Regions from separate parts of the Homo sapiens genome. Here regions 1, 2, 4 and 5 are each linked to region 3. The links are contacts of gene promoters, found by promoter capture Hi-C in blood cells and fetal thymus (Javierre and others, 2016). All regions are on one chromosome and are shown on one strand. Each heading gives the region's core, a stretch centred on a gene start or on the middle of the fragment in contact. The rest is flanking DNA. Distances are from core to core; before and after follow the strand shown.

Region 1 (2,700 bases), core at 52-2,551, 1.1 Mb after region 3:
CTTTTCCTTGCAGTTTCATTTTTGAGGTGTTCAAAAGCAGGATTTTCTACACAAAATAATAAAATGTAAATGTAAAAACAAATCCCGCCACTGGCGTTTGAAGGCAGGTTGTTGCATACCCAAGTGCCAGCTTCCTTTCCAAAAGTGGAACATCACGGAGGAACACGGGGCCCCGGCTGAGGGTGCGCGGTGTTTATTCTCGCCTTTGCCCTCAGGACTCAGTGTTCCTTCTTTCCAGGGACAGCTTGACACAGATGGCATCCAAGGTTCTCTTCGTCCTTCTTGGGACGGTTGTTTCTTACCGTTTAATGATCACAGTGTGGAAATATAACATTGAGCTTTGAGGCCGCTGTTGTTTCCAAATGCTTTGACAGCTACATGCAGTTTAGTGTGCGTGTATTCCGCCCCCTTTCAGTGCCCATTTTCAGATATTCATCCTCATTTGGGACTTTTGATCTGTCCTGGATGCCTTCCAGCCTGGGCCAGGTAGGAGTGTGGCAGGCATGGCAGGGGCAGGCAGGGCTGGCAGGCACAGCTGCCCCGACGGGTGGGGATGACCAGCCGGGGCTCGGCTTTGTCTCCACACCACAAATGTCTTCCAAAGTTGGCCTGCAGCTTGCGGGGCTCCTGAAGCCTGAAATGGACCAGGGGATGCTAATATCTCACCTCTCCCAATTCAGGTCCCCGGCTGCAGGCAGGGGGAGATCTGGGCAGCCAGTGTCCTGGGAGAAGGAGGAGTGTCCCTTGACCCTCTATGGGACATTTGCTAGCAGAAGCTGGAGGGGCCGCAGCCAGAAGGAGTGGCTGAGTGAGGGGGTATTCAGGCCAAAGCAGTGGTGGGAAGTGGTACCTCTGAGGGGGCGTGTGGAGGCTGTCTAGGCTGGGGGCCCCCTGGCCGGGCCCTTTCCATTTGCTCTCTGTCTATGTATTTGTTACACATAACAGAATCATTTGATGGCATTTTCTGATAGGGCCCTGAAGTCTATTGAAAATGGTCCATCTCAGTTGCTTGGCTCCAAGGGTGTCGAGTATGTTCCATTCACTCCAGAACAGGGTTCTGAAGCTCAGACACTCCCAGCAGCCTGGCGTGGCGGCTGTGCTGAGTGGGAGTGGGACAACCGACCTAGGGGGCAGGTGCTGTCAGCCCCACAGATGATGCCACACGGGACGGTGGGCCTCACGAAGCCTCATTTTCCAATCCACGGAGAGGAGCAGGAAACCGGGACTTTCAATGGTGGCGACTAATTCACCTTTTTCAAAGAACCAACAAAATTCCCTGAAGGCCAAACACGACCATTTTGGGTCTGTTTGCTTTCCCATGGTCACTAGTATTTTCTAGACTTCCTCCGTGAAGTCAAGAAGAGACACTAGGTGGTCTTTCCTAAAGAGCTTTGTCTTAACTTCCTGGGAGTTAACGTACCCATTAAGTTAGGTTATCCACTGAGCAATGCTGGAGTGTGGGCCCTGGCTGTGTCTTTTTCCAACTCCTCCTCTTTCATTATTGCCAGGACTAGTTGTTCTGCATGTTATTTCATAAACTGACCTCTAAGAAATACGTAGTAAAATAGCATGATAGAATTTGAGAGCCGAAGTCCATCAAGCTGGGTTGTGAGAACAAGTGAGAAAGTCCTGTAGGCACCATTAGGTCAATTGCAAATGTAAGTGCATTCCCGGTCTCAGGGATGTTTATGGGATCTCTGCAGAGGTCTCTGTCCTATGCAAACATTCTGCGCCCCCCGACCCCGCCAGCTGTGCCTCGGGTGCTTCTGGGCTTGTGAACTGACCTCAAAGACAGTGTCTCAGACCCTTTTCGAGGCTAGGTGTTCTAAACCCCCGGCCATGACCCTGCAGCACAATGGGTCATAACTAAAAATTAAAAATGAAGTTTTAATTTCCTTTCCCACTGGGGCCAGAAGTTCAGAGAAAACAAGGCTAGCAGGGGGTTTACTGGCAGCCTCCTTTTCCCAGACCTTGCCGCCAGGAGTGTCTGTCACAAAGCCTGTTGAAATGTGCACTTTAATCATCAAAACTGCATTTTCGGATTGTGGGGAGCCACAGTGCTGCTTTCCCATCAGAACAAGGCCAGCCTTTCATTCCCCACTGAGTGCCGTCTTTCCTGCTTTGGCTGAGGTCTGGGTGTGAAGAAACGTTTCAAAATAGGGCTTCCGGGTCCGCCGGTTTTGGAGAGAGAACTTCTGGTGTTACTGGAATCCTTTTCTTTGTGAACAGGAGCAAATGCAGTCTGAAGCCCTGAGACCACAGCCTCTGTGGCCCGTGGGGGAGTCAGTGTTACGCCTGGGCTGAGGCTGGAGTGGGGCTGGCTTCTGGCGTGGGGAGGCTGTGGGGCAGTGGGGGTTTTGGCTGTCTTCCTGGAAGAGTGGGATGATTGCCCAAATCTCCCTGCTTCCCAGGTGGACATGACTCTCCTATGAGAACGCCACTCAGGACGCTCCTTCCCCTCTTTCACTTTGCTGCTTACAGCTTGAAGCTGTGGGGGAACTGTCAGCTGCTTACTATAACCTCAGCTGCTTTTTCTAAAAACCAGACTTGCGCTTTTAAACCGCTCCCAGGGGATCGCTGGCCACTGCCTGCATTAGCTGTGAGGTGACAGGGCTCTGTGGGCTGACAAAGAGCCTGGGAACTTGGAGCTTGTGAGTTTTATGGTCCCAGCTCACTCCAACACCGAAGCCCTCTGAGGCT
Region 2 (2,700 bases), core at 128-2,627, 1.1 Mb after region 3:
TGAGCCACTGCATCCTGCTGTCACGGAGGTTCTATGTTCTAGATTCTGTCCTGGTGTTCATTCGAGTTCAGTCATAATCCTCCCTTGATATCTTATAACCCGTAGACCTAATTATAAAGTCACATCTTATATAAAACACATCCAATATAAAATGTTAAGGGAAACGGGGAGGACAAATATAAATTGACTAGGATAGAGAAAAGAAGGAAAACAATGCTATTACAGTCCTCATTTTTCCAAGGCTTGTGAGTCTGAGGTTGGACTGTTGAGCATCCTTGCTTTATCCTGGCATGTATTTCCTTTCACCATATCCGGCGCCTCTGCTGGTTAGTGCTCTTTATCTAGTGGAGCAATCTAAGTCTTTTTTCCTGAGAGGTCCTATTTCTGTGTGGTCTTTCTTGTATTGAGATGCTGTAGTCTTCCACCAACTCTGTGATTGGACATACAGCCTTGCCTATGATTTTCCTTGAGGGGTTCTGCAGTGGCATATTCTGGCAGTGGTATGTTCAGTCTTACATTTTTAAAATAAGACCTAACATTTTAAAATAAGACACCATCGTATCCTGATTGGCTATGGATGCTTCCAGCACTATTAGATCTGTTACGGATCCAAGTGGTGGTAAAGCTGCTTGCACATGGCCTGAAATTTTTGTTTTTGTTTTTTAAGACAGTCTCTCTCTGTCACCCAGGCTGGAGTGGCACAGTGGTGCAACCATACCTCACTGCAGCCTTCAACTCCTGGGGCTCAAGAAATCCTCTTGCCTCAGCATCCTGAGAAGCTAGGACTATAGGTGTATGCCACCATGCACCCAGCTAATTAAAAAAAATTTTTTTTGAGACAGAGTCATGGTTTTTTTTTGCCCAGGCTTGTCTTGAACTTCTGGGTTCAAGCGATCCTACTGCCTTGGCCCTCACAAAGTGCTGGGATTATAGGCATGAGCTACCATGCCTGGCCTGCCCTGGGATTTTCTCAAAGCTGGCAGACTAATGGGTTATTCAGAATATGGGTCAGAGCTGCACACACACCCACATACACACACACACACACACACACACACACACAGTACATATTGGTTCCCCAATCCAGAGTCGTATCAAGTGCTATAGCTCTTTATTAGCAGTAGGGGGTGCAAGATTCAGAGAGATATCCCATCGCTCACCAGATCACTGGGCACAGCAATTCTGCTGAGAGAGCAGGTTCTTGAATTCTTGTGACACAACATTCCACTCTTTGGCACACATGTAGGCACATAATGTACTTGTTTCCGCTCACTAGGTGCAATAAGAATCGTATTACTAATGTGGTGTCCTCTGGAATGGTCACATGAACACAGTTCCCTGCAGATGTAATTGGGAGAGAAGGCACAGTCCTGACACAGGGTAAGACTGTGGAGGTGTATTGCTGTCCCTACCAGGTAAAATAATATTGCTTCTGGTGGTTTTATTGGGAAAGAGACAACACATTTACCAAACTGATAGCTGCATATTGGGTGCTGGGGGCTGTGTTGATTTGCTACAGTCATAAAACTATGTCTAGAACAAAAGCTGCAATGGAAGCCATCTATTGACTAAATTAACAGTGAACCCTTATTATCCTCCAACAGCCATATGTGTTCTACATAGGTGAAGCAGGGGAGTTAAGTGGCCGTAATAGGAAATGTCATCTCTACATCTTTTTTGTTTGTTTGTTTTGTTTTTTTTTTTAGACAGAGTCTTACTCTGTCGCCCAGGCTGGGGGGCAGTGGCGTGATCTTGGCTCACTACAAGCTCTGCCTCCTGGGTTCATCCCATTCTCCTCCTCAGCCTCCCGAGTAGCTGGAACTACAAGTGCCCGCCACCAAGCCCGGCTAATTTTTTGTATTTTTAGTAGAGACAGGGTTTCACTGTGTTAGCCAGGATGGTCTTGATCTCCTGACCTCATGATCCACCTGCCTCGGCCTCCCAAAGTGCTGGGATTACAGGCATGAGCCACCACGCCCGGCCATCTCTACATCTTTCAAGTCTTTGGCAGTTCATTCAGGGATGTGATGTTGCTTTTGATAACTCTTGATAGGAAGAAGTGGTTCCAGGGTTTTCCACTTGCTCCTTCTTACCTAAATAGTCCTCACTTCCTGGGCCAGGGATGAGTGTGGGGATTCTGTAGCTGGGTGTTTCTGCATACATTCATAGAGTTTCTGCATAGAGAGTGCTCTGCATTCAGAAACCCAGGAAATGCTACAGGATAAGTTTATAGACCTACAAGGTACATCATGAGAAGCACGTGAGCCAAAACTCCACTTATCACTTGACTCCTATAACCCCAACTCTGAAAGCAGAGTTCAAGCAACTGTTGCGTCACCTCTTGCTACAGAGCACCAGGGTCCCACCTTCTGATGTGAATGAGACCTCCTGTGCTTCAAGCCCAGCCAAGTCAGATAACTTAGTGGTCTTCAAATTTTTTTCTGCATACACTCCTGAAGACAATTTAGAAAAAATTTAGAAAAATAATGTACCCTTCACCCACTTTTTTTTTTTCTGAGATGGAGTCTCACTTTGTTGCCAGGATAGAGTGCAGTGGCAGGATCTTGGCTTACTGCAACCTCTGCCTCCTGGGTTCGAGCAATTCCCCTGCCTCAGCCTCCCAAGTAGCTGGGACTACAGGCATGCGCCACCACTCCTGGCTAATTTTTGTATTTTTAGTAGAGACAGCGTTTCACCATG
Region 3 (2,700 bases), core at 139-2,638:
TGAAGTTCTATCAACTTATTTTGGGGGCAGATTTGACCTGTCAGAGCACTTCCTCCGTGGGAGCTCCATATCTAAATATGTGCATATATAGTTTTCTACTTTACTGACGGTAGCTTTCATAAAGCCGCTTGAAGTACTTACTAAAAATCCATCTTAAGACTCTTTCTGCATTTTGGGAGGCCGAGGCGGGTGGATCACCTGAGGTCAGGAGTTTGAGACCAGCCTGGCCAACATGGTGAAACCCGGTCTCTACTAAAAAATACAAAAAATAGTCGGGCATGGTGGCGGGTGCCTGTAATCCCAGCTCCGTACTCCAGAGGCTGAGGCAGAAGAATCGCTTGAACCCAGGAAGCAGAGGTTGCAGTGAGCCAAGGTCGCGCCATTGCACTCCAGCCTGGGTAACAAGAGTGAAACTCTGTCTCAAAAAAAAAAAAAAAAATCTTCCCCACACATAATGTGGCAGGACAGGAAACACTAGGATTCCTCCAGTTTATGGGGAGATTGGGAGAGCTGAGGCTTCACAATGACACAGCCGGGTATGGAAAACACCAAAAGAAATATGCCTTTTTGGATGACAATACTCCACCCCAATTTCCAAGTATGCTACAACTTTTCCTCAGCCTCGATGGGAGGTATTTACAGTGAGTGGTAGAAGCTTTACTGCAATGCCCTGGTAGACACAGGCTCCACCAGGCTTGGCTTCTACACTCTCACTGGGTCTATGGATGAGCACAGAAGCCAGGTTTCTGGCTCACAGAGAACCTAAGTGCTGAGTTTATATATAAAGTGCACAGTGTGAATAATTAAATATGAAAACGTGTACACACCAAACAGGACATTTTTACTTAATGCCAAAGAAGCACAAACGACCCTTTCTTTTGGGAGTTTCACAAGCATTTCTGCTCAACAGTAATCCCCCAGTGACAGTGATAGTAGTGGTTTCAATATTTTGTTTATAAAAAGCAACATTATAAAATGCCCTGAAAGGTCTTGGCTTCTTTTGTGAGCTCTGAACTATTCAGAAATTCAGCTTGCTATCTGGGGACAACAAATAAATCCCTACTCTAAAAAAATGGGATTCGGGTTTTTCTCCTGTGCTGCTTCCTGGCCTTAACGCTTCCTGGGGACTTACCGTCATTTGCTCAGTTACGGTTTCTATGGGATGAGTGGGGAAGCCGCGTGGTGAGGAAGCCTGGCTCGCACCCGGCCTGCGCTCTCTCGGGCCTGGCCGCATCGGCCACCAGGGGGCAGTGTTGTCATTCGCTGGCGACGCCGCCCCGCCCCGAGCGGATGCCACCCCGTTTCCAGCCTCCGGTGCTCACCGTAAGCTCTGTTATTATTATCTTTTGATTTATAAAGCGCCGTTCCTCAGCAGATTCCCCGCCCCCCAGCTGCTTCCGAGAAAGCTCGCAGAAGCGTTCGTGCGCAGGCGCGGAAGCCCCGCACAGCACGCGGTGGGCCCGGTTCGGGGGGGCGCACGGCCTGGGGCGTCGGGAAGAGGCTGCGGGCAGCGGGGCCTGCGGGCGCGGCGTGGCGGGGCGGGAAAACGGCTCTGTCCCGTGGGGCGCAGGCAGGAACGTGTTCCCATAAAAGACACAGGGAAGACCAACCCTGGGCGTTAGCCATCCAAACCTTCCCTCCCGTGCGAAACCCGCTGCCCTGCGGCCAGGACTGTGAGGGAAGCGATGGGAGGAACCCGGGAGCCCGCGAAGGCCGGGCCCCAGAGTCCGGGCGCCCCTGAGCGGGGCGGAGGGGACAAATAGAACCTTTTTAAGGACAGCTGAAAGAGATTATAAGCGCGGTGTGCTGGGACTTTGGAAAGGGCGCGAGTCATTAGTGGGGGCGAATCAGAGGGGAGTATGTTGACGGGATAATAACAAAAATAAAGAGGCTTGATAAGAAAGACACGGCTTTTGGAGTCAAAGGGAAAATCCGGGACAATGAGGGTTGGCAGGTTCCTGGGACACAAACCAGGAAAAACAGGGCCACACCGGAGCGGCCTGCCTGGCTCCAGCACAGCCGGTGCAGAAGCTAATTTTGTTCCGAGTCCTCCTAGCTCAACAAACATGCCGCCATAGCACCTATTTTCTTTTAGGTAATGCTCACAACAACCTAGCAAAGTGGGGATCATCTTCACCACTGTACAGATGAAGAAATTGAAGGTCAGACATTCAAGGTTATGTGGCCACATGAGAGAAATACCAGAGCTGGGATGAAGACTCAACGGCTCTCAGACACCAGGTTGCTTCTTGAGAGAAGCCGGATGGATGTGCATGCAGGGAGGTGAGCCTCAAAGCAGGTCCAGCTTTCTCCCGTGAGTGTTCCAGTGGCTTAGGGTTAGGGTTAGGGTCCAGAGGAGGAGAGGCGTCCAGAGCTGGGGCCGTCTGCGTTTTGCCTTGCTGTCCCAGAGTGGCAGCGAGGAGTGGCCTGGCCTAGAGGGTCTTTGTCTTATCTTGTGACTTGCTGTTTCTCCTCTGTCTGCAGGAGCTGGGGGAGGTTGGAGAAGCCGCAGCCCAGAAGGGGAGGGAGGACACCATGTCAGAGCTTGCTGGAGCAAGCTTTGGAGGAAGGCCACAGGGGACATTGTCACCAAGGGCCACGGCAGCGTGCACCCTGGGTTAGAGAAAGGGGCAAATTATGGATATGAAAAATGCTTCCCTCAATGAAAAGGACCCTGCTGAGACAGGATGGCTGTGGGCC
Region 4 (2,700 bases), core at 74-2,573, 1.1 Mb after region 3:
TTATATGACTTGTAATCTGGGGGTCTGTTGCACTGAAAAACAGCTCACATTTCATTACATTTTGTTACTGACAGGGTTGAATCGGTTTGAACTAGTTCTGTGGTTACAGAATGCCTTTCAATCTGAAAGGGGATGGTGTTAATGATGACCCCGGGACAGCAGGATAAAATGATACTGCCCTGGGCAAGCTAGAAGGGATGGCCACTATGCTCAGCACTAACCAGTTCCTGCAAGGGCCTCAAAGGGTCTCTGCCTTGACCCACTGGCTTCAATACATGAACATCTCTAAGGATCCCTCATTAAGGTCTTTTTCTTACCTATCAGCCTTGTGTTTTTTTATGTGTTTGCTTTGAATCAGGTTGCAATGTTATAGATTTTTAAAAAGAACACACAAAGCCTTCATATTTTTATAAGTATTCCAAGGAAACAACTGCTTTAAGTTCAGTCTTTCTTCCAGTGGTCTTGCTGGGAGAGCTACCCAAGGGTGACGGCAGAAAAGATGAAGGACAAAATCTAAACAGGCAGGTGCTTCCAGGTTCTCATGGACTTTCTGACTCCTGTATGGGCTAGAATCTGTAAACTTGTAAGTCTACGAATGTGTTTCTTTGGATTTACAGCGGAGTATTTTGTGTGTCTTAAAATCCGCGTTCAATAACGTTCCCCACAGCTAAACAGCTAGATACGGAGATCCAGGGGTGAGTGGCCCCTTCGGCTGCCTGCATCACTCATTCCTGCTTCCTGGCGCTGATTTGGCTGATGGAGGGGTGGAGTTACAGTGACACCTGGGGACAGGTGACTGGCTCTGGCCCTCTCCTTCTTGAAACCATAGTTAATTATCACACCCTTGCCTGACCTGTCTTGTCCTCAGTTGTTCCCCCACCGAAATCCCACTGCTGTTGGTTATTGCTTGTGAAGGTGCTTCCTCTTTAGAAGCCACCACTTCCTGCCTCTCTTGACCAGGCAAACCCCACGCATGCTTTCAGGTCATTGCTCCCCATCTTTCATTCTGCACGGTGTGTCCACCCAGGCTCCTGTTGGAAGTGCTGGTGCTTCACGGAGCAGAGAACCTGCTAGCAAATGAAGAATGGGCACCTCACTTTCCCTGGAAAGAATTCTCTCGCAACACTAACTTTCTCGTAATACAGACTCTGTTGTGTGCATGCTGGGGACTGTCGGTTTGCAGTTAGAGCTCAATAAATCCTGTGGCCTTGAGTTGGCCCCTGGGGTATTGCCGTCCACCTCATAAAACTATTACTTAATTAAGTATGGCTGAGTACAATTGGCAGCCTCTGCTTCTGGCCAGAGCACCAGACCTGAGTGTAGATGTGCTCTGGTCTCCTCTGTGCCTCGAGGCTGGTGGGCCCCTCGTGCTGCAGAGGAGACTTCTCTGCAGAGCTGGAGGGCAGTCCTCTGGGATCATGGAAAACACACACGATTGTTACAGGGCTCCCTCCTGTGCCATCAGAACTCAGCGCTCAGAGGTCGCTGAAGGGCTTGCTTTTGGCAAATTGTGTTTCATAGATGTGACATAATTAAAAATAAATAACAAAAAACCATCTTTGATTGGGGAAATGCCAGGTCAATGGTCATTTAGAAACACTATTTAATATGTGCTTCACTTCAGCAGAGCTTTGAGTAAAGGGGGTTCAGACATTTAGACCCGATTTTTCTGCATTAAAAACGACAGCTTCCAACTTTCCTAGTGATAGTAACAGACAATGATAATAAATGTCAATGGTTTCTGATGCCTGCTTTTGCACATCCGTCATAGAAGGATGTTACATTATTAAAATCTGTAACAATGTAGCTCATGAGATAAGTGTGAGGCCATATGACAGTCACCGGGGGGCTTGGGGCCAAGGAGGGGACTGGCGAACGGCTGCTGCCCGGCAAAGCAACTTCCGAGCACCGCTAGGGTCATCTTGGATCACACGACGGGATAACGTCTTTCAGTTAACATAATTGAGCCTTAGTTCCGTTTAAGACTTTATATAGCTTAATGTAAAAAGGGAGAGACTTCTGCCTGGATTATCCATAAGGTCCTTTCCAACTATGACGACCTTTTAGGACACTGTAAATACTTTTTTCTTCCTGGAAGATATAGCATATGCAGTAGGAAGAACATAAGCCAGATATACTCAGGTTTCAATACAGGGTCTGGGACCTGCTGGTCATGTGACTTTAAAATTACATTCCTTCTAAACCTCATTTCTTCCTCTGGAAAATTGTCTGCTATTCCTTATCTTAGGAGGTGATGGTGAGGCATAAATGAACTATCACATAAGGAGCCTTTCCTTAATTCACCCAATACATATGGCACAAAATGTATTCCCTGATGATTTTTTCTTTTTTTAGACGGTCTTGCTCTGTTGCCCAGGCTAGAATGCAGTGGCATGATCCCGGCTCACTGCAACCTCTGCCTTCCGGTTGAAGCGATTCTCCTGCCTCAGCCTCCTGAGTACCTGAGATTACAGGCATACACAACCAGGCCCAGTTAATTTTTGTATTTTTAGTAGAGACGGGGTTTCACCATGTTGGCCAGGCTGGACTCGAACTCCTGACCTCAGGTGATCTGCCCACCTCGGCCTCCCAAAGTGCTGGGATTACAGGCGAGAGCCGCTGCTCCAGGCCCCAGTGATTATTTTTAAAATTAAAGTAGGCGTTGCCAGCTGTGGCCCCTGCCCCTGCCGTTAGGTGGCG
Region 5 (2,700 bases), core at 71-2,570, 1.0 Mb after region 3:
TATTATCGCACTAATGTGTTATTAGAGCTTGGAGCAGGCAGCACTTTAAACATTCACTTGAAAATAACCTTAAATGTATTGTTTACAAGTAACTTTTTAACACCCCTCCCCCCAAGTCTCAAAGCACCCTACGCACTTTATTTGGATTTGGGAGTGCCTACTGGGTGAATTCTGTTTTAAGGTGCAGCCCACACACGTCCAGGTGTTTTCTACAACCTGCATCCTTGATTGGTACGCGGGTGGCATGGAGGGGTGGTGGCAGCGCCCATCTAGGTTTTACAAAATGAGTGTCCCTGTGTGTGCGTGGACGTGCCTCACAAAGAGACCTTCACGTCCGTACATGCCACCCGCACCCTCCAAAAATTGTGGATTGCCATCACGGGGGTCGCTAATACTTTTAACAAGCAGCAGGGGCAATGGGGGACAAAACGGCGCTAGGAACTGGTCCACCGTCCACAGTGTGTCCCCTGAGAACACCCGGGGTCTGGGCCTGATCTCCAGGAGTTGGAGGAGGCGCCCCCGCCCCGTGCCAAGCGGGCCCAAGGCCCGAGGCTCCCCCGCTCACAACCCCGGTGCCCGGAACACGTCTTCGAGGGGCCGTGCTGTCGGGGTTATTACTCGCGACTGGACCTCGCGCCGTGTTGCTCTCCTCGGGCCCCGAGCCCGCCCAGCGGTCTGCACGGCCCAGGCCTGAGCTGCGGGCTTCTCCTGTGGGGCGCGCTGGGAGTGAGCTCTATCCCCAAAGCCCATTTCAACGTCCCAGGTATGACTACGACGGCAGAGGCCGGCCGCCCACCCTCGCCCCCTTCCCCGGCCAGAGCGCCTTTGCCGGGAGCCGACGACCGCGGCCTGACCCCGGGCCCCACCGCCTACTCCCGGCTCCCGCCCTTCCTCCACGGTCAGGGGTCACACACAGCGGACGCCCCGTTCTCAGCCGCCCCTCTGATCTCTGAATTTGGGAGCCAGCGTGTCCGCTGGGGCATGCACTGCCACGGGCACTGGGACCCCTTTGCTGCTGCGGGGAGGAGCCCCGACGGCAGGTGGGAAGACCTAGCCTGCCCGCGTCCCCGCTCCCCAGCTCCTGCGACCCGGGCCGAGGCTCTCAGCCCCTGGGCTTCCCCGCTCCGGGTTTGAGGGAGGGGCCGGGCCTTCGGGCCTGCAGACCCGCCACCGCGCGTGCGCATGCGTCGGCCGCGAGCCCCCGGGTGCAGGCCTGGGCGGCTCCGGCCCGCGCACTTGTCCAGGCGCTGCGGCTCAGCGCGCCCCAACCTCCAGCTCGGGCGGAGAGCGGGGGCGGGACTGAAGCACCGTGTTCCTCAAAGTATCCTCTCGCCGTCGGCAGCCCTGGCCTCGCAAATGCTCCAGCGCGCTCAGGCGCACGCAGAGACTGGCGCGGCAGCCTCCGGGCCAACGGCACGCGAGCAAAGCTGGTTGGCGACCTGGGACACGCAGTAGAAGTTGAGGCTGCACCGACTCCCGCCGCTTCGGGGGAGGCATGGGCCCGGGCAGGCCTAGGAGGAAGCTGCACAGCCCGAGGCCCGGGCGGGAGTGGCGGGCCGCGGGCAAGGGAACGTATATTTGGAAGGGGTCAGGACCTCGGCTGGAGTCTGGCTTTTTATGGCGAGGAAGCCGACTGGGAAGGGCCCTCTGGCGAGGCTTTCCTGTTGTGCCACTTTTCCCCGGCAGCGCCGGGCGCGGGGAACGCGGGGCTGCACCGGGGCGGGGGAGGGGGCTTTACCCGGCGGCTCCGAGGACTCGACTCTGGGGTCGGGCCCGGCGGGTAGGCCTGCCCAGGAGCCAGCTGGCAAATGCAGCGGACTGTCACGTTATTCCACTGTCACCACTTACTGTAAATCACTGTCCTAAGCCTCCGGGAGAATCCGTCGAACCTGAGAGGGGGGAGGGGGATGGGGGTGGGCGCGCAGGAAGCCCCACAGGCACCAGGGACTGGTGACCCAGGACATCAGCCCCTCGAGTTCTCTCTGGGAATTTCTAGCACCCAGACTGTCCCTGACTGTAGGGACCACGGTGGGGCGTCTTCCTTCTAAGCTCTCCCCGGGACACCGGGCGCGCCCCCCTCGCCCCTGGGTTAGCGCACACTCCTCCACGCGATGACCAGCACAGCCACTGTGAGGCCCGGCCTTGGCCGCGTTTGTCCTTTGCGAGTGATAATAATAAAAATCATTGGAATTGCAAGGAAGCCCCTGGCCCCGGCTCCCCAGCCGCTGCTGTCCTGGGTGTCCCGGCTGCGGAAAGACCCCGCAGCCGGGCCCGACCCACGAGTGGAACACCGGGCTGCGGACCCAGCCGGGCCTACAGGACTGGCGCGGGGCTCCGGGGACAGGCCTCGCAGGGCCCTCCTGCGCACCGTCTGGGACGCCGATTTTGCCAACTTGGAGGACAATTTTTGTTTTCACTCTACCAGCAGATTTTTAAAAATCCAGTCGCCGCTGAAACGTGCTTCCCACCCGTCCGGTTTGTTTGTAGCCTTTGACGAGCCCCGGCACAGCCTCCGGGACCAATGACCTGCTTTTATACCGAAGGAAATGTGGAGGCCTTAAGAGTTAATGGCGCTAAATGTGTTGGTTTTCCTGCTTTTTCCCCGGGGTAGGTAATGGGAGGGGGGATGTCCCTCTCTCCACGTCTTCCCTCCCCCTCTCTTTCCATCTCCCTCTCCCCCATCTCGGGATCTAAGTCGTC

Evidence for each region. The method cuts DNA at HindIII sites, captures the fragments that hold promoters and counts their contacts. A CHiCAGO score of 5 or more calls a contact.
Region 1: a fragment that was not itself captured here is called in contact with the fragment with the promoter of LINC02521 in region 3 in 10 of 17 cell types (naive CD4 T cells, total B cells, total CD8 T cells and 7 more); the score reaches 11.9 in naive CD4 T cells.
Region 2: a fragment that was not itself captured here is called in contact with the fragment with the promoter of LINC02521 in region 3 in 7 of 17 cell types (non-activated CD4 T cells, total CD4 T cells, activated CD4 T cells and 4 more); the score reaches 10.5 in non-activated CD4 T cells.
Region 4: a contact is called between a fragment that was not itself captured here and the fragment with the promoter of LINC02521 in region 3, in 4 of 17 cell types (naive CD4 T cells, activated CD4 T cells, total CD4 T cells and 1 more). The highest score is 8.7, in naive CD4 T cells.
Region 5: a fragment that was not itself captured here is called in contact with the fragment with the promoter of LINC02521 in region 3 in 15 of 17 cell types (activated CD4 T cells, naive B cells, naive CD4 T cells and 12 more); the score reaches 18.0 in activated CD4 T cells.

The regions. Positions count from the first base shown.
Region 1 is chr6:1,575,345-1,578,044 of GRCh38, reverse strand. No RefSeq gene overlaps it. Among named protein-coding and RNA genes, the nearest start is that of FOXCUT, 29 kb to the left of the region's middle. RefSeq lists an enhancer at 853-1,626. The HindIII fragment of the contact is 9,409 bases long and covers 1-2,700 here.
Region 2 is chr6:1,551,061-1,553,760 of GRCh38, reverse strand. LOC102723944 (a long non-coding RNA gene) reads left to right here. Exons shown (of 7, transcript XR_427861.4): 2 at 1,277-1,415. Among named protein-coding and RNA genes, the nearest start is that of FOXCUT, 53 kb to the left of the region's middle. The HindIII fragment of the contact is 8,686 bases long and covers 1-2,700 here.
Region 3 is chr6:2,633,188-2,635,887 of GRCh38, reverse strand. LINC02521 (long intergenic non-protein coding RNA 2521) reads right to left here and starts at 1,388. Exons shown (of 3, transcript NR_149119.1): 1 at 1,133-1,388. It overlaps LINC01600 (long intergenic non-protein coding RNA 1600), which reads left to right and starts at 1,285. Exons shown (of 3, transcript NR_131168.1): 1 at 1,285-1,323; 2 at 2,096-2,283. The HindIII fragment of the contact is 1,903 bases long and covers 658-2,560 here.
Region 4 is chr6:1,515,552-1,518,251 of GRCh38, reverse strand. The region is part of intron 2 of LOC102723944 (a long non-coding RNA gene); the gene reads left to right. It also overlaps the pseudogene ELF2P2. Among named protein-coding and RNA genes, the nearest start is that of FOXCUT, 89 kb to the left of the region's middle. The HindIII fragment of the contact is 4,402 bases long and covers 1-2,700 here.
Region 5 is chr6:1,618,674-1,621,373 of GRCh38, reverse strand. No RefSeq gene overlaps it. Among named protein-coding and RNA genes, the nearest start is that of FOXC1, 10 kb to the right of the region's middle. RefSeq lists an enhancer at 1,903-2,700. The HindIII fragment of the contact is 5,353 bases long and covers 1-2,700 here.